Regions from separate parts of the Homo sapiens genome. Here all the other regions are linked to region 1. Evidence: promoter capture Hi-C in human tissues and cell types (Jung and others, 2019). All regions are on one chromosome and are shown on one strand. The core of a region is centred on a gene start or on the middle of the fragment in contact, and the rest is flanking DNA. Distances in the headings are between cores, read along the strand shown. Region 1 holds the start of EIF5 (eukaryotic translation initiation factor 5). Region 2 overlaps CINP (cyclin dependent kinase 2 interacting protein). Region 3 overlaps RCOR1 (REST corepressor 1). Region 4 has its middle 21 kb from the start of RCOR1. Region 5 overlaps RCOR1 (REST corepressor 1). Region 6 holds the start of TRAF3 (TNF receptor associated factor 3). Region 7 overlaps LOC105370680 (a long non-coding RNA gene).

Evidence for each region. The method cuts DNA at HindIII sites, captures the fragments that hold promoters and counts their contacts. A contact is called where the count stands out against the background at its distance.
Region 2: a fragment that was not itself captured here is called in contact with the fragment with the promoter of EIF5 in region 1 in 2 of the 25 tissues and cell types used here (dorsolateral prefrontal cortex and hippocampus).
Region 3: a contact is called between a fragment that was not itself captured here and the fragment with the promoter of EIF5 in region 1, in 1 of the 25 tissues and cell types used here (hippocampus).
Region 4: a fragment that was not itself captured here is called in contact with the fragment with the promoter of EIF5 in region 1 in 1 of the 25 tissues and cell types used here (hippocampus).
Region 5: a fragment that was not itself captured here is called in contact with the fragment with the promoter of EIF5 in region 1 in 1 of the 25 tissues and cell types used here (lymphoblastoid cells).
Region 6: a contact is called between the fragment with the promoter of TRAF3 here and the fragment with the promoter of EIF5 in region 1, in 1 of the 25 tissues and cell types used here (thymus).
Region 7: a fragment that was not itself captured here is called in contact with the fragment with the promoter of EIF5 in region 1 in 1 of the 25 tissues and cell types used here (hippocampus).

Annotation. Positions count from the first base shown.
Region 1 is chr14:103,332,797-103,335,653 of GRCh38, forward strand. EIF5 (eukaryotic translation initiation factor 5) reads left to right here and starts at 1,441. Exons shown (of 12, transcript NM_001969.5): 1 at 1,441-1,464; 2 at 1,593-1,801; 3 at 2,857. It overlaps EIF5-DT (EIF5 divergent transcript), which reads right to left and starts at 1,864. Exons shown (of 1, transcript NR_158216.2): 1 at 1-1,864. RefSeq lists an enhancer at 897-1,016 and silencers at 1,337-1,756, 1,897-1,946, 2,057-2,296. The HindIII fragment of the contact is 9,721 bases long and covers 1-2,857 here.
Region 2 is chr14:102,351,597-102,354,417 of GRCh38, forward strand. All of the region lies in intron 3 of CINP (cyclin dependent kinase 2 interacting protein), which reads right to left. Among named protein-coding and RNA genes, the nearest start is that of CINP, 9.9 kb to the right of the region's middle. The HindIII fragment of the contact is 9,147 bases long and covers 1-2,821 here.
Region 3 is chr14:102,612,637-102,615,336 of GRCh38, forward strand. The region is part of intron 2 of RCOR1 (REST corepressor 1); the gene reads left to right. Among named protein-coding and RNA genes, the nearest start is that of RCOR1, 21 kb to the left of the region's middle. The HindIII fragment of the contact is 9,224 bases long and covers 1-2,700 here.
Region 4 is chr14:102,570,263-102,573,011 of GRCh38, forward strand. No RefSeq gene overlaps it. Among named protein-coding and RNA genes, the nearest start is that of RCOR1, 21 kb to the right of the region's middle. RefSeq lists an enhancer at 1-293. The HindIII fragment of the contact is 6,435 bases long and covers 1-2,749 here.
Region 5 is chr14:102,682,723-102,685,422 of GRCh38, forward strand. All of the region lies in intron 3 of RCOR1 (REST corepressor 1), which reads left to right. Among named protein-coding and RNA genes, the nearest start is that of RCOR1, 91 kb to the left of the region's middle. The HindIII fragment of the contact is 3,535 bases long and covers 1-2,700 here.
Region 6 is chr14:102,776,142-102,778,841 of GRCh38, forward strand. TRAF3 (TNF receptor associated factor 3) reads left to right here and starts at 1,308. Exons shown (of 12, transcript NM_145725.3): 1 at 1,308-1,534. RefSeq lists an enhancer at 1-120 and silencers at 831-890, 981-1,590, 1,801-1,850, 2,091-2,150. The HindIII fragment of the contact is 12,756 bases long and covers 1-2,700 here.
Region 7 is chr14:102,519,871-102,522,572 of GRCh38, forward strand. All of the region lies in intron 1 of LOC105370680 (a long non-coding RNA gene), which reads left to right. Among named protein-coding and RNA genes, the nearest start is that of ANKRD9, 11 kb to the left of the region's middle. The HindIII fragment of the contact is 6,441 bases long and covers 1-2,702 here.

The sequences.
Region 1 (2,857 bases), core at 191-2,690:
TGTTTTTAAGACTCAAGTTTTCACAAAAAAAATCCAAGTTTCAGAAAGAATGGGAGAGTTTCAACAGAACTAAAATATGAGAGCCTCTCTCTAAATAATAAAAATTTTCTTTTTTTTTTTTTTTGGAGACAGTCTCGCTCTGTTGTCCAGGCTGGAGTGCAGTGGTGTGATCTCGGCTCACTGTAACCTGTGCCTCCCGGGTTCAAGGATTCTCCTGCCTCAGCCTCCCGAGTAGCTGGGATTACAAGCGAGCCACCACGCCCAGCTAATTTTTTGTATTTTTAGTAGAGACAGGGTTCCACCATATTGGCCAGGCTGGTCTCAAATTCCCGACCTCAGGTGATCCGCCCACCTCAGCCTCCCAAAGTGCTGGGATTACAGACGTGAGCCACCGCGACCGGCCTAAATAATAGTAATTTTCAACGGAATACATTGGAATCTCATTATAAATGCCTGCTCTGGGCTACGATTTGCTTATCAAAGAATTCACAAGTCATAAACTAGAGGGGGTGGACTCGACGTGATGCCCACTAGGAGAAAGGTGACAAGAGAAGCACGAAGGATAGCGCTTTTCAACCCTGGGAGAGCAGGGAGGCCTTCACCAGAAGGTGGGAACCCACCACGAAGCGCCTTCAGGAGGCCCCAGGATTCCAAACCAATTAAGGGCCTCCTCTTCCGAAAACGGGAGGCGACGCGCTGAGCTAAGCGCGCAGGCTGGGTTGCGGGCCGACACCGAGGCGGCGCGGCCTCGCGACCGCCCTGGGCGGTCACTGGCGAGTCACGGACTCGTTCCGCCAGCGGCCAATCCACCCCGAGTCCGAAACAGAAGACGTCCCTGGGATGAAAGACCCAGGCCTGGGGCTTAAGGTGGAAAAACAACTCATTCCTCGAGGCCCGGAGTCGGGCGTCCCGGGAGAACGGGAAAGGGAGATGAGCGCCCGCTGCGGGGAGAACGCGGTCGGGTTCCTCTCCCCGAAGGTGGCAGCCGCAAAAACACGGCCTCGAAAGCAGTTTCGAGGACGATGGCTCCTGCGTCCCGGGAGTCGCCATGACGCCGCGGCCTGTCCCAGACCCGGCGAGGGAGGGGACCAACCACCATCTCCCCCTCAAGGCCCAAACCGACAAAGAACGGCCCCCGGTACCCCGGCCCCGCCACCAGGGCCACTCCGGGTCTCGCGAGACCCAAGGGCTGCGCCGCGAAGACCTCTGGGAAAGGCGGGGGGAGGGGAGAGGAAGGAAGCGAGACCGGGGCTGGAGGCGGGCCGAGGCCGCGAGTTGAGCCTCAGGAAGCAGAAGGGGCGCGGAAAGATGCGATTGACGTCGCAAGCGAACCAATGACGAGCGAGCTGTGGCAGGCCTCCAGCCAATGGGCAGTGAGGCCTGACGCGGGGGGCGGACGCTGGGGCCGAGGGTAGCTTGAGCGCGGCGGCGGCGTTGTTCAGTCAGAGCGAGAACATTCCAGAGGTGAGTCCGGTGAAGGGGCGGCCCCCTGCCCGGTGCTTCCCGCCCCCTCGACCCCTCGGGCCGCTGGCTGGCGGGGAAGGTGCACTCCCCGACCGCCCACGGCTCACGGCGCCGTCTCTCCGCGCCAGGTCGCCCAGCTCCGGCGCTGACGGGTGTGGACCGCGGACGTCGCTGGGACAGCCCCTCCCCGCTGCTCGGCGGCGGCACCTGGCCCGGCCGCTCCTCGCTGCGCTTCGCCTCCGCCTCCTCGGACTCGGACTCGGGTTTATATCGCGCCTCACTTCATCCCAGTCCCGGGCGAGCAGCGTTGGGTTTATGTCTTTATTTGACGAAAACGGTGAGTCGCGGGCGCGGCGGGCCAGGAGATGGCGGCCGCACAAGATGGCGGCGGCCGCCGCGTGACCCCGCCGCGGCGTGTGGCGCAGTTTGGGCGGACGGCGGGCGGGCGCGGGCCCGGGCGCCGGCCGCCCCCTCCCCGCGCGCTCCCCGGCCCGGCCTCGCCCCCTCCCCGGCATGGCGGGAGCGCGTCGCGCGTGCCCGCCGCTCGGGCTGACTCAGGCTTCAGCTGCTGCATTTGTGAGTCATCGCGCGCTCTGGGGCGGGGGCGGCCCGATCCCGGCACCCCTCGGCCGTGTGTCGCTTCCCGGCTGTGCACCCTCCGGGGCCGCCGGCTCTCGGGGGACGCGCTGGGGATGGGGCCAGACGCCCCGGTCGCGCGCCCCCCTCCTTCGCGGAGCTGCCCGGTTCGCCAGCCCCCGCGGAAACGCCTCGGAGCGCGGTAGCCATGGGGACCAGGGCGAAGGTTAACCGAGTATTTGAATAGCGAGGAAAAGGGAGGCCGGGGCGAGCCTGGCGTTCGCTCGCGCTCTCTTGCTTAATGGCAAATTGTGGGCGAGCGCTGCGTTTAAGGAAGTGCTGCTTTGAAGTAAGCCATGGTTGCCGAAGCAACGATTAGTTGTAGAGAACAGTTCCCTAGGTTGCCCTTAAAAATGAAGACGAACGGGGGTGTGCCTGAGAAGTTTGCTTATCCAGGCGGGGTGGGCGGCGGAGAGGGCTCGGGTTCGTTCTTCAGCACTTCCAGGATGGCCGCAGAGGCAAACCTGCTGATTGCCCTCGGTCTGATGGAATCTCACGGCGGCTGAGGCAGCACAGCTTGTGTTTTCTTGTCAGGCATTTCCCTACCAGTCACAGCTTAGTCGAAATGGAGGCCTTTTTATGTTCCCGCAGATTGTACTGTGTTACATGAGAATGGCTGTTTGCATGTGATCTCAGATGCTTTTTAAGGTGGAGTTAAGCAGAAGCATAACTAGGATGTAAAAAGGAGGCGTTTCCATCCAGCGATGATGTTAAACCTGGGGGGATTTTTGTGTGTTCTTTCCCTTTTTCTTTCAGA
Region 2 (2,821 bases), core at 79-2,578, 980 kb before region 1:
TATATAAATTGTCAAATATCTTAATTCCTTTACTTGGTCCTTCCAACCACCCTCCAATTACATTGGAAGTGGCAAGCACTAAATTCAGCTAACGTTAATTTTTAAAGGACTTTACTTAAGTAGTTTCCCAAATCTTTTAAGGTTTGATATTTTATTTGGCCCAACCCCAAGAGGCAGGACTTGTCATTTCCGTTTCACAGCTGGGAAATTGCTTAAGGTTGAGCTGAGGAAGGATGAGGCCAGAACTCGATACCATGCCTTCTGACACCAAGTTTTTTTGTTTTTGTTTTTGTTTTTGTTTTTTTTGAGACAGAGTCTCGCTTTGTCACCCAGGCTGGAGTGCAGTGGCGCGATCTCCGCTCACTGCAACCTCCGCCTCCCGGGTTCATGCCATTCTCCTGCCTCAGCCTCCCAAGTAGCTGGGACTACAGGCGCCCGCCACTGTGCCTGGCTAATTTTTTTGGTACTTTTAGCAGAGCTGGGGTTTCACTGTGTTAGCCAGGATGGTCTCGATCTCCTGACCTTGTGATCCGCCCACCTCAGCCTCCCAAAGTGTTGGGATTCCAGGCGTGAGCCACCGCGCCCAGCCGACACCAAGTTTTAACACCCAATCCTCTGCTCTTTCCTGTGAGTCCTGCAGCAGCTCCCTGGTGCCACCTGATTCTAAGAAAAGCTGATAACAGGAGACTAAGGAAAATTCTGGAGCCTTGACCCCAGGCAAGAAGTCATGCTCAATCCTGCAGCTCAGCCATCAATAAAGAATTCAAGTCACATAGGCACGTGCAGCCCTGAATGAACAGTGCATAAACAGCAGGCCCTTACATTTCAACATCGGTGGCTTCTTCCCACAGCAAACACAGACCACAGTGAAATGTTAGCCCAGCTTAGGAAGAACGGTGCATGAAACCCCCAGAAGGTCAAAGTTATGAAAGACACAGACCAGGTCTGGAAACCATTCTCTATAACGGATAGAGGAAAATAGGAAAAATAATAATACCCTATAAAATCAACTTTTGGTTTTGAACATAGAATGAGAACTTATTCCCAAACCACTTTTCTTTTTCTTTTTTTCTTTTTTTTGACACGGAGTCTCACTCTGTGGCCCAGACTGGAGTGCAGTGGCTTGATCTCGGCTAACTGCAACCTCCGAAAGTGATTCTCCCGCCTCAGCCTCCCAAGTAGCTGGGATTGCAGGCACCTGCCACCACCCCCAGCTAATTTTTTGTATTTTTAGTAGAGATGGGGTTTCACTATGTTGGCCATGCTGGTCTCAAACTCTTGACCTCAGGTGATCCACCTGCCTCGGCCTCCTAGAGTGCTGGGATTACAGGCATGAGCCACTGCGCCTGGCCAAAACAAAAATTAAAAAAAAACAAATAAAAATACAACAATTAGCTGGGTGTGGTGGCAGGCACCTGTAATCCCAGCTACTTGGGAAGCTGAGACAGGAGAATCACTTGAACCCAGGAGGCAGAGGTTGCAGTGGGCAGAGATCACCCCACTGCACTCCAGCCTGGGCAACAAGAGTGAAACTCCATCTCAAAAAAAAAAAAAATTAACAAATGGGAGGGAGGGAACAAATCTCCCACGCAGAATAATTCCAAATAATTTATGTAGATACTGCACCCTCAAGCAGGTGGTGAATACGTCCCTACCCCCAGGTGTGGGCTATGCATAGTGACTTCCTGCCAAAGAGCACAGCGTGGGAGGAGGAGAAAGAGCAACGTCACAGCAGAGGAACCTGGAAACACTGCCCAGCCAGGTGATCAAGGTCAACTTCAGCAGTGGAAAGTCCTGGCTGTGCACAGTGGCTCACGCCTGGAATCCCAGCACTTTGGGAGGCTGAGGTGGGAGCACTGCTTGAGCCCAGGAGTTTGAGACCAGCCCGGGCAATAGGTGGGACCCAAAGAAAAGTCCTGATGACAGTATATCCAGTACGTGCCCTTGATATGACATGATAGAAATGGCACTTTACTTCTGTGGTCCTCCTCTGAACAAAACCCGTAACCTCAGTCTAATTAGGAGAAAAACATCAGATAAATCTCATGATGTTCTACAAAATACCTGACCAGTATCCCTCAACATTGTCAAAGTCATCAAAAACAGGGAAGTCTGAGAAACTGTCACGGCCAAAAGGAGCCTGAGGAAACAAGGGGACTCGATGTCATACAGGATCCTGAAGCCAAAACAAGACATGACGGAAAAGCTAAGGCAGGGCGCCAGGGCTCACACCTGTGATCCCAGCACTTTGGGAGGCCAAGGTGGGAAGATCACTTCATGTCAGGAGTTCGAGACCAGCCTGGCCAACATGAGAACCCCGTCTGTACAAACGAATTTTAAAAATTAGCCGGGCATGATGGTTCATGCTTGTAGTCCCAGCTACTCGGGAGGCTGAGGCAAGAAGATCACTTAAGCCCAGGAAGTAAAGGCTGCAGTGAGCTGTGATCATACTACTGCATTCCACAGCGAGACCTTGTCTCCAAACAAACAAAAAGGTGAAAATATAAAGATCTTAAATGTTTATGGGTAAGCTTCAGTTATCCAAGTTCAAATATGTGTAAAACCTGATTTCCTGTGCCTAGCAAAGAAATAAGGTGGTGTTATCTTCACATCTGGTGGCCAGTATGGTAGGTATTGAAATTTAGTTATTAGTTCATTAAACAAACACTTTAGTCTCTTACGTGCTGTATCAGGGATGGGCAAACTATCCCTGGAACACAGGTCAATTCTGGCCCATAGCCTATTTCTGTATGGCCCATAAGCTAAGATGGTTTTTACATTTTTAAATGGTTGAAAATAACCAAAAGGACAATAGTGATTG
Region 3 (2,700 bases), core at 179-2,678, 720 kb before region 1:
TGTTCATTTCAATATTCCTGATGAAGTACTCCATCTGATCTCATTTGCTCTTAGAAATCTGCTTGCTGGTTACCCTGTGCAGTGGCTCACACTTGTAATCCCAGCACTTTGGGAGACTGAGGTAGGAGGATTGCTTGATGCCAGGAGCTAGAGATCAGCTTGGGCAACATAGCAAGACCTTGTCTCTACGTGCACCTGTAGTCCTGGCTACTTGGGAGGTTGAGATGGGAGGATTGCTTGAACCCATGGGTTTGAGGCTGCTATGAGGTATGATCACACCACTGCATTTTAGCCTGAGAGACAGGAGACAGTATCTCTTAGCAAAAAAAAAAAAAAAGAAAAAACAAATCTGACTACCGTATTGATGATTCTAGTCCAGAATTTTCCAAAGGAGTATAGGTGGTTTTTTTGGTTGTTGTTGTTGTTTGTTTTGTTTTTTGAGATGGTGCGAGTCTCGCTTTTTTTGTTTTGTTTTGTTTTTTTGAGATGGAGTCTTGCTCTGTCGCCCACGCTGGAATGCAGTGGCACAATCTCGGCTCATTGCAACCTTCGCCTCCCGGGTTCAAGCAGTTCTTGTGCCTCAGCCTCCCGAGTAGCTGGGACTACAGGCGTGCGCCACCACGCCTGGCTAAGTTTTGTATTTTTGGTAGAGTTGGGGTTTCACCGTGTTGGCCTGGCTGGTATCAAACTCATGACCTCAGGTGGTCCGCCATTCTCAGCCTCCCAAAGTTTTGGAATTACAGGTGTGAGCCATCGCACCTGGCCTTTTTTTTTCTTTTTTAAACATATTTATTTATCATTTTTTTTTTTTTTTGAGACGGAGTCTCGTTCTGTCGCCCAGGCGGGAGTGCTGTGGCGCGATCTCTGCTCACTGCAAGCTCCGCCTTCCGGGTTCACGCCATTCTCCTGCCTCAGCCTCCCGAGTAGCTGGGACTACAGGCGCCCGCCACTGCGCCCGGCTAATTTTTTGTATTTTTAGTAGAGACGGGGTTTCACCATGGTCTCGATCTCCTGACCTCGTGATCCGCCCGCCTCGGCCTCCCAAAGTGCTGGGATTACAGGCATGAGCCACCGCGCCCCGCCATCCTTTTTTTTTTTTTTAAAGAGGTGGAGTATAACTATGTTGCCCAGGCTGATCTTGAACTCCTGGCCTCAAGCAGTCCTCTACCTTGGCCTCACAAAGTGCTGGGATTACAGGAGTGAACCACCGCGCCTGGCTGAGATAGGTTGTTTTTTGAATTAACTATTCTTTTTTTTTTTTTTTTTTTTTTTTGAGACAGAGTTTCGCTGTTGTTGCCCAGGCTGGAGTGCAGTGGTGCAATGATCTAGGCTCACTGCAACCTCTGCCTCCCAGGTTTAAGGGATTCGCCTGCCTCAGCTTCCCAAGCAGCTGGGATTACAGGCATGTGCCACTACACCCGGCTGATTTTGTATTTTTGGTAGAGACGGGGTTTCTCCATGTTGGTCAGGCTGGTCTTGAGTTCCCAACCTCAGGTGATCTACCCTCCTTGGCCTCCCAACGTGCTGGGATTATAGGCGTGAGCCACTGCACCCAGCCATGTTTTTAAGATTTTTAAACATCTGGCTCTTTTTTTTTTTTTTTTTTGAGACGGAGTCTCGCTTTGTCACCTAGGCTGGAGTCCAGTGGCGCCATCTCGGCTCACTGCAAGCTCCGCTTCCTGGATTCACTCCATTCTCCTGCCTCAGCCCCCCGAGTAGCTGGGACTACAGGCACCCGCCACCATGCCCGGCTAATTTTTTGCATTTTTAGTAGAGACGGGGTTTCACCACGTTAGCCAGCATGGTCTCGATCTCTTGACCTCGTGATCCGCCCGCCTCGGCCTCCCAAAGTGCTGGGATTACAAGCATGAGCCACTGCACCCAGCCCTTCTGGCTCTTTTTAAATGTCAGATATTGATAACTCCCAGACTGAATTAAGATTTTATATGTCAGATGATTAACTATCATTTTGAGTTGTTGCTTAGTTCTCTGCTTGCTTGGCAACAGGTCAGTTTCCATGGTATTGCCATTTTTGTACCGCATTCTTAGTGGAGCTGAGAGGTTGGGGGTGAGGCTACAGGGCCGAACTCTATAAACTAGAATAGCTAAACTTTTATCCAGTTTGGTGTATAAAATTTTTTGATATACAGCTCAGGAAAAGCATATAAAAAACAAAAATAAAAATAATTTCTGAATAATTTTTTTTTTTTTTTGAGACGGAGTCTCGCTCTGTCGCCCAGGCTGGAGTGCAGTGGCGTGATCTCGGCTCACTGCAAGCTCCACCTCCCGGGTTCATACCATTCTCCTGCCTCAGCCTCCCGAGTAGCTGGGAGTACAGGCACGTGCCACCATGCCCAGCTAATTTTTTGTATTTTTAGTAGAGACGGGGTTTCACCATGTTGGCCAGGATGGTCTCGATCTCTTGACCTCGTGATGTGCCCGCCTTGGCCTCCCAAAGTGCTGGGATTACAGGCGTGAGCCATAGTGCCCGGCCCCCCCGCCCCCACCTTTTTTTGAGACAGAGTCTTATTCTCACCCAGCCTGGAGTGCAGTGTTAACGATCTTGGCTCACTGCAACCTCTTCCTCCTGGGCTCAAGTGATTCTTCTGCTTCAGCCTCCCAAGTAGCTGGAACTACAGGTGTATGTCGTCATGCCTGGCTAAATTTTTTTTTTTAATATTTTTTAGTAGAGACGGGGTT
Region 4 (2,749 bases), core at 226-2,725, 760 kb before region 1:
TAGAGACGGGGTTTCACCATTTTGGCCAGGATGGTTTCGATCTCTTGACCTCGTGACGTGCCCACCTTGGCCTCCCAAAGTGCTGGGATTACAAGCGTGAGCCATCATGCCCCGCCTTATTTTTGTATTTTTAGTAGAGACAAGGTTTTGGTATGTTAGCCAGGCTCCTGGCCTCAAGTGATCTGCCCCACCTGGCCTCCCAAAGTGTTAGCATATGGAAGCTTCAGAGTTCAGCATTCCTTCCCCCAGGGTATAGGGCCTCTCTGGGGAGGGTCCAAAGCCTCACAATGAGAAAGGTGGGGAGGATTAAAGTCCTGCCTTGGGGCAGATGAAAGGAGGGAAGGAGAAGGTCAGAGGTCTGTCCTTGAGGCTGAACACTCCCAGCGTTGTATGAAAAGACTGGACTTTGCAGTGTCTCATGCTTGTAACCCTAGCACTGAGGGAGAATCCCTCAGCCCAGCAGTTCGAGACCAGCCTAGGCAAGATAGGGAGATCTCATCTCAAATTTAAAATAAATAAATAAATAAATAAATAAATAAATAAATAAATAAAAGGCCAGTCTCAGTAGCTCACGGCCTGTAATCCCAACGCTTTGAGACAACGAGTCAGGTGGATCACTTGAATCCCGGAATCCCGGAATTCAAGACCAGCCTGGGCAATAAAGTGAGACCCTGTAGCTACAAAAAATACAAACAGTAGCCAGGTGTGGTGGCATGTACCTGTAGTTTCAGCTACTCAGGAGGCTGAGGTGGGAGGATCAATCGCTTGAGCCTGGGAGGCAGAGATTGCAGTGACCCATTCTGCGACTGCACTCCAGCCTGTTGGACAGAGCCAGACTCTGTCTCAAAAAAATTTGAAAAGAGACTATAACAAGGTCTTTAGGAGTTATCAACCAGGATCTGTGCACAAATATATATCCTAACCCCACAGGCAGCAGTCAGTTATCACAGCACAGATGCCTGTTATCTGGAGGACAGGCTGCATTTGCCCACTCTGGCTCCTGCAAGCTGTGTGCAAGCCGGTCCAGGACCACCTGCATCTACTGCCTGCTTTGCAGGCTGGGCTGGGAAATGGGTAGCTGCCAAACTGCTAAGAGCTGAAATTGAGCAAAATTAACTGCACTTTACCATCCAAGCCTTCCCCTGGAAGTTACAAGCCTTCAGTAGACTCCAGAGTTTCAAAATAGTCACATCAGGCAGATTCTGCCAGTGTAATTGTTTAGGCAGGAAGACCATTTCCTGATGTTTCCTTCTCTGCCATCTTGATATTATCTTTTGCAGAGCAGTTTTTATTGATTGATTGATTGATTTGCGGGGGTTATTTTTAATGGAGGCCAGCTTAGCAATTATATTTTTTAGCATAATGTTTTCAAGATTTATCCATATTGCCCTTCATTACTTTTCATAGCTGAATAGTGTTCCAATTGTATCCATATACCACATTTTGTTTAATCATTCATCAGCTGATGGATCATAAGTTGTTTCTACTTTTTGGCTGTTATGAATGCAGCTATGAACATTTGTGTATATATTTTTGTGTGAATTGTGGGCATGTGTTTTCTTGTTTTATTTATTTATTTATTTATTTATTTATTTATTTATTTTTGAGACGGGGTCTCACTCTGCCGCCCAGGCTGGAGTACAGTGGCGTCATCTCAGCTCACTGCAACCTCCACCTCCCGGGTTCAAGTGATTCCCCCTCCTCAGCCTCCCGAGTAGCTGGGCGGGCGCGTGCCACCATGCCCGGCTAATGTTTTTTGTATTTTTTTTTTTGAGAGAGTTTCGCTTTTGCTCCTAGGTTACAGTGCAGTGGCGTGATCTCAGCTCGCTGCAACCTCTACCTTCTGGTTTCAAGTGATTCTCCTGCCTCAGCCTCCTGAGTAGCTGGGATTATAGGCACCCACCACCATGCCCAGATAATTTTTGTATTTTTTAGTAGAGACGGGGTTTCACCGCATTGGCCAGGCTGGTCTCGAACTCCTGACCTCGTGATCTGCCCGCCTCAGCCTCCCAAAGTGCTGGGATTACAGGCGTGAGCCACTGTGCTCGGCCTTGTTTTTTGTATTTTTAGTAGAGACGGGGCTTCACCATGTTAGCCAGGATGGTCTCGATCTCCTGACCTTGTGATCCACCCCTCGGTCTCCCAAAGTGCTGGGATTACAGGCGTGAGCCACTGTGCCTGGCCAGTTTGTTTTTGTCTGTTTGTTTTGAGACAAGGTCTCACTGTTACCGAGGCTGGAGTGCAGTGGTGTGATCATGGCAAGCTACAGCCTCAGCTTCCTTGATTCAGACAATCCTCCCACCTCAGCCTCCTGCTGGTCTGGAACTCCTGGGCTCAAGTGATCTCACCTCAACCTCCCAAAGTGCTAGGATTACAGGAGAGGAGTGAACCACTGTGCCCAGACTTTTTTTTTTTTTTTTTTTTTGAGACACAGTCTCACTCTGTCACCCAGGCTGTAGTGCGGGGACACGGTCACAGCTCACTGCAGCCCTGCCTCCCAGGCTCAAGCATTCCTCCCACCTCAGCCATCTGAGTAGCTGGACTACAGGCACAGCAACCATGCCCAGGGAATTTTTGTGTTTTTTGTAGAGATGGGGGTCTTGCCATGTCACCCAGGCTGGTCTTGAACTCCTGAGCTCAAGATAACCTCCCATCTTGGCCTCCCAAAGTGCTAGGATTACAGGTGTCAGCCACCACAGCTGGCTGGGCATATGTTTTATTATTTATTTATTTATTTATTTATTTATGA
Region 5 (2,700 bases), core at 72-2,571, 650 kb before region 1:
ATACTGAGCATTTTTTGAACCTTTATGCCAGCACAGTACTAAAATGTTTTTCATACTCCTGTATCATTCAGTGTTCACAGTAACCCAGGAGGAAGATTTTTTCTCTGTTTTACAGATGGCATCCCATAGTTCAAAGAGTCAGAGGGTTGTAAAAGTAGCACAGATAGTGAGTGGCGGAACCCCAAGTAGTTCACTCCTGGGTCATAATCTCACTTATTTCTCAGGCTGTGTTCATTTAGCCTGTTAGCCACTATCTTTCTGTTATTACAGTTTAAAGTTGTATTAGTCACTTTTCCTATTGTATTGCTTATTGGAGTCTTTGGAGTCAGAATTTAATTTTAATGTTATCTTATTTTTCATAGACCTAGAAGAAAAGGGCAGAATATGTAAAGTTAATTGATTTTTAAACAGTGGTGTTGCCTATAAAATAAATTTACAGTTTTATTGTAAGCCCTGATTACAATCGTTTTAAGTTTAAAGTTGGTTAAAACTTTAAACTTTAAAAAAACTAACCTGTCCACTGAGGCTCCCAGTGGACAGCGAGCTCGGCTTGTGGCTGAGACACACTTGAGCCAGGCCAGAGGCATAGGAGGACCAAATTTGACAGATATCAATACACGATTCTTACTGAGGCCTTTGAAACGGACCCTTGTCCTGGAATTACTGTCAGAAAAGAACCGGCCAGAAAAACAGACTCCCGAGCCACGAGTCCAGGTTTGGTTTCAGAATTGGAGAGGTGGAGCACGGAAAAGAAGCCAGAGCAGCGCCAGCGTGGAGGCCACCTGGGCGCAGGTCCCCCCGATCCCAGACCCTGGTCAGCCTGGGGTGCTGACCCCTACTGTTCCACCAGCGGGGCTTCCCCGGGGGTCCCAAGCAATGTGGGCAACTTCTCTTGGGAATCGGAGGATGCTTTGGGCCAAGCTCTCCTCTGGGGGCGCGCTGATGTTCCGTGCGCGAATGTGGCCCCCGCTGACCTGGAGATGGCAGCCAGTGCGCTCGGCCACGCTTAGGGAGATGTCCCTTGATCTCCGCCCTCGGGCCCAGTGCTGCTTCCGGGTCCCTCTTGCCACCAGCCCTTCCCACAGCTGGAAGCTGGCAGTGCTGGGCCTCAAGTTCATCCCGGGGCACCCGGCCTGCTCCCCATACACCAGTCCCTAGCTCTGCGGGGGCTGGGGCTGCACCCTCCTGCTGTGGAGCAGCAGCCGAGGTGGGGCTGGCAGCTGGGGGAGGCGCCTGGGTGCGCCGTGACCTGGGAGCAGCCCTCTCCGCCCCAGCCCCCGCAGCTCTGACCGTATCCCGCCTCTCTGCCTCTTTCCTGGCCATAGTCACAGCCACAGCCATCGCAGGACCCGGCTGAGCGCTAGGAACAGGTTCCTTGTCTTCCTCCAGAATCCAACTCGCACGGGAGGCCCCAGCACCCCTGCCCCCAACCCGCTGCGGAGTCTGAACCTCAAGCGGCTGCATAGCAAACCCGTGGAAATGACCTGTCAGTGTCAGGCAGTGGAAGACAGATGAACTAAGCAAGGGCTCATCGGTAGTGTTCACGTTATGAAAATTGAAGAGAAATATCAAGATTTATTTACTTTGTCACGGAAGGGCTTCCAGACATACCTTTCAGGGAAATCGAGTTGTTAGGGTGGAAGGGCCTTGGGGTGCATGAGACCTAGGGGTTTTCCTTAGATGGCATAAAAAAGGATTGACTTTATAGAATACATCTGTCTTTCCATTTATTAACCGAGTAAACACGGAGCACTGAGAGTGAACAAAGTCCACTAGCGAGAAGGCAGGATGAGGACGGCTTTGTAGAAATGCATTATTTTCTATCAGGAAAGAGCAATGATTTCTACTCTGGGAAAAAAACAAAACAAACACTTACCTAAAAGTAATATTTACATATTGTTGAAAGTTCATAGATAAAAGTATAAAGAATAAAAAAAATTCACCTATTATTCCATCACCCAGAGGTGATAATCGTTAAACATTTTGGGGTATTTCTTCCAATTTTTTTTGTATGTATTTATATAAGTGAGATGATAGATTATCTGTGTGTGTGTATGTGTGTATTGTCTTCCTGAGCATCGGACCTAAGCAGTTTCCACGTTGTTAAAACTGCTTATAAAGGTTTTAAATAACTAGGTGTAATACTTTATTACATGGATATGTCAGTATGTTTAACAATTACTCTATTGAAAATTTAGGTGTCTCAGTTTTGGAAGAATATGGAAGTCTTGGTTGTCCAGCATTTATTCTGACATTAAGTAGAAATAAGTGATTTAGGACATATTTCTAGCAGATACTAAAAAACTGTGTATAGGATGTCTGGAGATCCCTGGCTTTTCTTGTGTGTGTGTGTGTGTTTTTTTTTTCCTCTTCTTTTCAAAGTGGCTGTTCAGAGTTCTGCCTCTTAGGGTTACTGAAAGCTTATAAAGTTATGTTGTAATTATAAAAATAAATGCTATTTTAGAAAATTCAAATAGTACATAATGCATAATATATAATTGTTTTCCACAAAATGTGAACTGTTATCAGTCTGCTCATAAGTACATCTGGGACTTTGTTTCATCTCAGTATATCTACAGTTATCTAATTTTTTTTTACTGTAACTAGTATGGATGTATCATAATTTAGCCTTTTTTTAAACAAAATTACCTGTATTACCTATTGATGAATATTTATAATCTTAGTTCTTTTTTTAAACTC
Region 6 (2,700 bases), core at 58-2,557, 560 kb before region 1:
ACATGGTCCAATGTCTCTGATGTCCAGATAGACTTCCAGCAGCCAGGTCGGACTATCTGGGGTTCTGGAACGTTCCATGGGTGAAGCTGTAGGAGGAGATGCTGGACTTCCTGCCTCCACTCACATGAGTCACTGGAGCAATACAAGAAGGCAGACTGGCCTTGGCTACTCACACTGGTCTCAGCTCTGGGGTAGGGCTCTTTATAAGCCTTCTTGAGAAGTGAAAAATGCAAAGTCCTTTCTGTCCCCTCACCACTGACTTGCAAACTCCAGCGAAGGCCTCACCCCTCAGCTGGCCCAGAGCCTCCCAGAAGCCCTCCCTTCGCTTCCCACCTCGCCAGGCCCAGCCAGGCTGGGTGCTGCCTTGGTGGGCCTAGGTGAATCACTGACACACCACTGATGCCTTTGGGGCAGAAGGCAGAGGCCTCGGGAGAAATGCGCAGGCCCCAGCGGCCTGGTGGAGGGTGCAGGGGGCGCAGGGGCAGCCAGGACCGCCGAGGACGCTGGGGGCACGTGGCAAACTGGCTACCCTGTCCACCCGTGAGCAAGACACCACTCCGGGGGCGTGGGAGGGTCCAAGGGAGGGAGAAAGGAAAGTGCCACCAAACTAATGTGGAGCCCTGCCCTCTGCATGCGAAAAGGGGCTCCACGGCCTGAGTCACCCTCAGCCCCACCTGCGTGTGCGCGAGGGTGCGTGGCCTGGTACGCGTGCGCACGGTGTTGGTGAGCGTGTGTGTGCGTGTCCGCTTGAGGGGAATGTGACCGTCGTGTATGCGTCCGCGACAGTGCGGGGGGCCGCATATCGGACCCGTGCGTGTGCGTAGGGGTCGCGTGTGGCCATGGGCACACGGGCGTGCACGCACGGGGGCTGCGTATGCTATGCTGGCGTGGGGGGTGCGGGCGAGGTGGCCGCGGGGAGGAGCGGCGCCAGCACCTCTCGGCCCCCACGCGGCCTGCGTGGCTTTTTGACCCGGAAAGGCGGGGACGCGGGGACGCGCGGCGGCGGGGGCGCGGCGGGGGCGGCGCAGAGCGAGGAGGCCCGCGGGGCGCGCGGCGGGGACGGGAGGGAGGCGGGGGGCGCCCGGGGCCGTCCCCGCCCCGCGCCGCGGCGCCGCCGTTGCTAAGGCCGGGCGGGCGGCCGCCGGGCGCTAGGGCCCTTAGCAACGGGTCGCGGGCGCGCGCGGGGGGCCGGCGGGCGCGTGGGGCCGGCGGCGCTCGCGGGCTCCTGCCGCTCCCACGCGCGCGGGCGGCGGGGGCGGGGCGGCGGGCGCGCCGGGGATTTCCAGCGCGCGAGAGGAAGTGCCTGCGCGGGGCTGCGTGAGGGAGCGAGGGAGCGAGGGAGCGCGGCGCGGCCGCCGCGTGCGCGAGCCGGGGTTGCAGCCCAGCCGGGACTTTCCAGCCGGCGGCAGCCGCGGCGGCCGCCGGCTCTTCCCCGCCCCCCGCCATGGGGCAGCCCGGGGAGCAGAACGCTGCGGACCGCGGCGGAGGACGCGCCCGGCGCCCCTGAGCCGGCCGAGCGGCGACGGACCGCGAGGTAAGGGGCCGCGGCGGGCGGGCGGGCCTCCGGCGCGCGGCCGGGCGCCTCCATCCCCGTCGCCTCCATCCCGCGCCCTGGGCGGCGGGGCCCGGGGGCCTCGGGGCTGCCCGGCGCGGGCCCGGCGCGGCGCAGGCCCGGCCCGTCCCAGCGGCGACGGCGGGGCGCGGCTTCAGCCTGGCCCCGCGCCCCAGCCGGGCTGCCTCCCGCCTCCGGACGCCTCAACTTCGGCAAACTTTGTCCCGGAGGCCGGGCTCGGGGCCCGAGGGGGCCGGGGCGCCCGCACCTTTTCAGGAAACGGGGCGCGCAGGCCTCGCTACGGCCGTGACCCCCGCTGGCGTTGAGGACCCGGCACCCCGCGGGGCCGCGGGTTTCACGCGGGGGGACGGGCGGCTCAGGGGCTGCGTGGCCGAGCGCGCTGCCCGGGCCGGCCGGGGGGGCCCGGGCGTTATTGGAAAGTTGGTCCTGAGTCATTCCGCCTCAGAGGCGCCTCCGACCGCTTGGCGGGCGGCGCGGGGGTCCGGGTATGGGCAGAGGGCGCGAATCCCCCTCGCGCGGCCGCCGAGGGCCGGCGACTCCCGGGGCACCGGGCGGCTCCTGGCCGCGGGCTCTGCGTCTTCCCCGCGGGCGCCAGGCGGCTCTCGGCGGGCTGGCCGGTTCCACGCCGCCAGCCAGCCCCGTGTGGGGACTTCGGTCTAGTATTTGGACCCGAGGAGATAATTCTGTGTGGAAAATTCTCTCCCTTCGGTTGGAAACAGTAACAAACTGGAAACGGATGAGGTGTTATGGACGTGCTTGGAAATGCAAGAAACCTTCAGATTACGAGCTGTTGACGGGACCAGTTGTATTTCACGTTTTTCGAATTAAGCTCAGAATCAGTTTTCAGAATGACATGTGATGCGTGGTGCGTGGTGTGTGTGCCTGTGTGTGTGTATGGATATAATTCATTCATTTTTGTGGCGTCAGAAAGGTTATGTCGAGCGTTGTAGCGGCTTCTTAATTTACATTCACGGCATACAACTGAAGAGGAGCCATTATTTATTTTTTTTCCTAGCATTTGCTGCGACTACACACTGCCGGAGCGTTTGGAAATGTTGTTTGCTGTTACCCTGTATTTGTCTATAAAATTCTTACTGTAGGGAATGGCCAAGTGGACCATCAGTTCG
Region 7 (2,702 bases), core at 110-2,609, 810 kb before region 1:
CACTATGTTGCCCAGGCTGAGTCGAACTGGGTTCAAGCAATCCTCCCGCCTCAGCCTCCCAAAATGCTGGGATTACAAGCGTGAGCCACCATGCCTGGCCTGAAAACATCTCTAACACAAAGATCTGTATGTGAACGTTCTGTGAGATAAAGTAGCACACCTAGGAAGCCAAGCATGCTCCTTTCTGTTTGCAGCACAGTTTCACAAAGCCCTACCTCTGTGACCACCTGCAGCTCTCCAGAAAGTTGCTTTGAAGACAAAACGCGACAGAGCACACAGTCCCCCTCCCCACGCCTCTGGCTTGAGTTGCTACATTCTCTAAAAGATCCATGACCCTAGCCTTGCCTTTCCCTCCTCATTACATCTGGTTAGGGCCGGGCGTGGTGGCTCACGCCTGTAATCCCAGCACTTTGGGAGGCCGAGGCAGGCGGATCACGAGGCCAGGAGATCCAGACCATCCTGGCTAACATGGTGAAACCCCGTCTCTACTAAAAATACAAAAAAAGTAGCCGGGCGTGGTGGCGGGCGCCTGTAGTCCCAGCTACTCGAGAGGCTGAGGCAGGAGAATGGCGTGAACCTGGGAGGCGGAGCTTGCAGTGAGCCGAGATCGCGCCACTGCACTCCAGCCTGGGCGACAGAGCGAGACTCTGTCTCAAAAAAAAAAACAAAAAAACATCTGGTTAGTGATGATGCTTCTGTGATCTATAACCAGATGTATTCTTACCCAAACCTTGATGTAACTCTGCCTCAGTGTAACTTCTGAGCAAGTCTGATGTGATTTTGCACGTATTGAACTCCCACAATTCATGTATAACTGTGAGCTGAAACTATTTTGGAGCAATCTAAGAAAACCTCACCAAGGAAATGTTCTGGGCTATCAGCCTCTGGGTAATGTCCTCAGGAGGCTTCTGAATCAAACTCACTCTTTTTTGTTTTTTGAGACGGAGTTTCACTCTTGTTGCCCAGGCTGGAGTACAATGGCACAATCTCGACTCACCACAACCTCTGCCTCCTGGGTTCAAGCGATTCTCCCGCCTCAGCCTCTTGAGTAGTTGTGATTACAGGCATGCGAAACCACACCCGGCTGATTTTTGTATTTTTAGTAGAGATGGGGTTTCTCCATGTTGGTCAGGCTGGTCTTGAACTCCCGACCTCAGGTGATCCGCCCACCTCGGCCTTCCAAAGTGCTGGGATTACAGGCGTGAGCCAAGGTGCCCAGCCATCAAACTCATATCTTTTTTTTTTTTTTTTTTTTGAGACGGAATCTTGCTCTGTTGCCCAGGCTGGAGTGCAGTGGCGCTATCTTGGCTCACTGCAATCTCCACCTCCCGGGTTCATGCCATTCTCCTGCCTCAGCCTCCTGAGTAGCTGGGACTACAGGTACCTGCCACCACACCCGGCTAATTTTTGTATTTTTAGTAGAGACGGGGTTTCACCATGTTAGCCAGGATGGTCTCGATCTCCTGACTTCGTGATCCGCCTGCCTCGGCCTCCCAAAGTGCTGGGATTACAGGCGTGAGCCACCACGCCCGGCCCAAACTCATATCTTTAAAAGCTTTCTTTCTTTCTTTCTTTCTTTTTTTTTTTTTTTTTTTTGAGATGGAGTCTCACTCTGTTGCCTGGTCTGGAGTGCAGTGGTGCGATCTCGGCTCACTGCAACCTCTGCCTGCCAGGTTTAAGCTATTCTCCAGCCTCAGCCTCCTGAGTAGCTGGGATTACAGGCGTTCACCACTGCATCCAGCTAATTTTTCTATTTTTAGTAAAGACGGGATTTCACCATGTTGGCCAGGCTGATCTCGAACCCCTGACCTCAGGTGATCCACCTGCCTCAGCCTCCCAAAGTGCTGGGATGGATTACAGGCATGAGCCACTGCACTCAGCCTTTTTTTTTTTTTTCTTTTTTTTTTTTTGAGACGGAGTCTCGCTCTGTCACCCAGGCTGGAGTGCAGTGGTGTGATCTTGGCTCACCGCAACCTCCACCTCCCAGGTTCAAGCCATTCTTCTGCCTCAGCCTCCCAAGTAGCTGGTACTACAGGTGTGCGCCACCACGCCTGGCTTTTTTGTTTATTTTTGTTTTTATTTTTTGAGATGGAGTCTCCCTCTGTCACCCAGGTTGGAGTGCAGTGGCGTGATCTCGGTTCACTGCAAGCTCCACCTCCCAGGTTCACGCCATTCTCCTGCCTCAGCCTCAGGTGTCCACCACCATGCCCGGGTAATTTTTTGTATTTTTAGTAGAGACAGGGTTTCACCGTGTTAGCCAGGATGGTCTTGATCTCCTGACCTCATGATCTGCCCATCTTGGCCTCCCAAAGTGCTGGGATTACAGGCGTGAGCCACTGCGCCCAGCCCTTTTTTTTTTTTTTAAGTGGAGACGGGGTTTCACCATATTGGCCAGGCTGGACTCAAACTCCTGACCTCGTGATTCGCCCACCTCGGCCTCCCAACGTTCTGGGATTACAGGTGTGAGCCACCATGCCCAGCTGCATTTTATTTCTTTAGTCAACATCCATAGCAGCATTATTCATAATACCCTCAAAATGGAAAGGCATATCCATTAACTGGTGAATAGATGTATAAAGTGTGGGATTTCCATACAATGGAAATTATTCAGCAATAATTATTCTCGCCATCTGCCCAGGCTTGTCTCAAGTGACCCACCTGCCTCAGCCTCCCAAAGTGCTGGGATTACAGGTGTGAGCCAC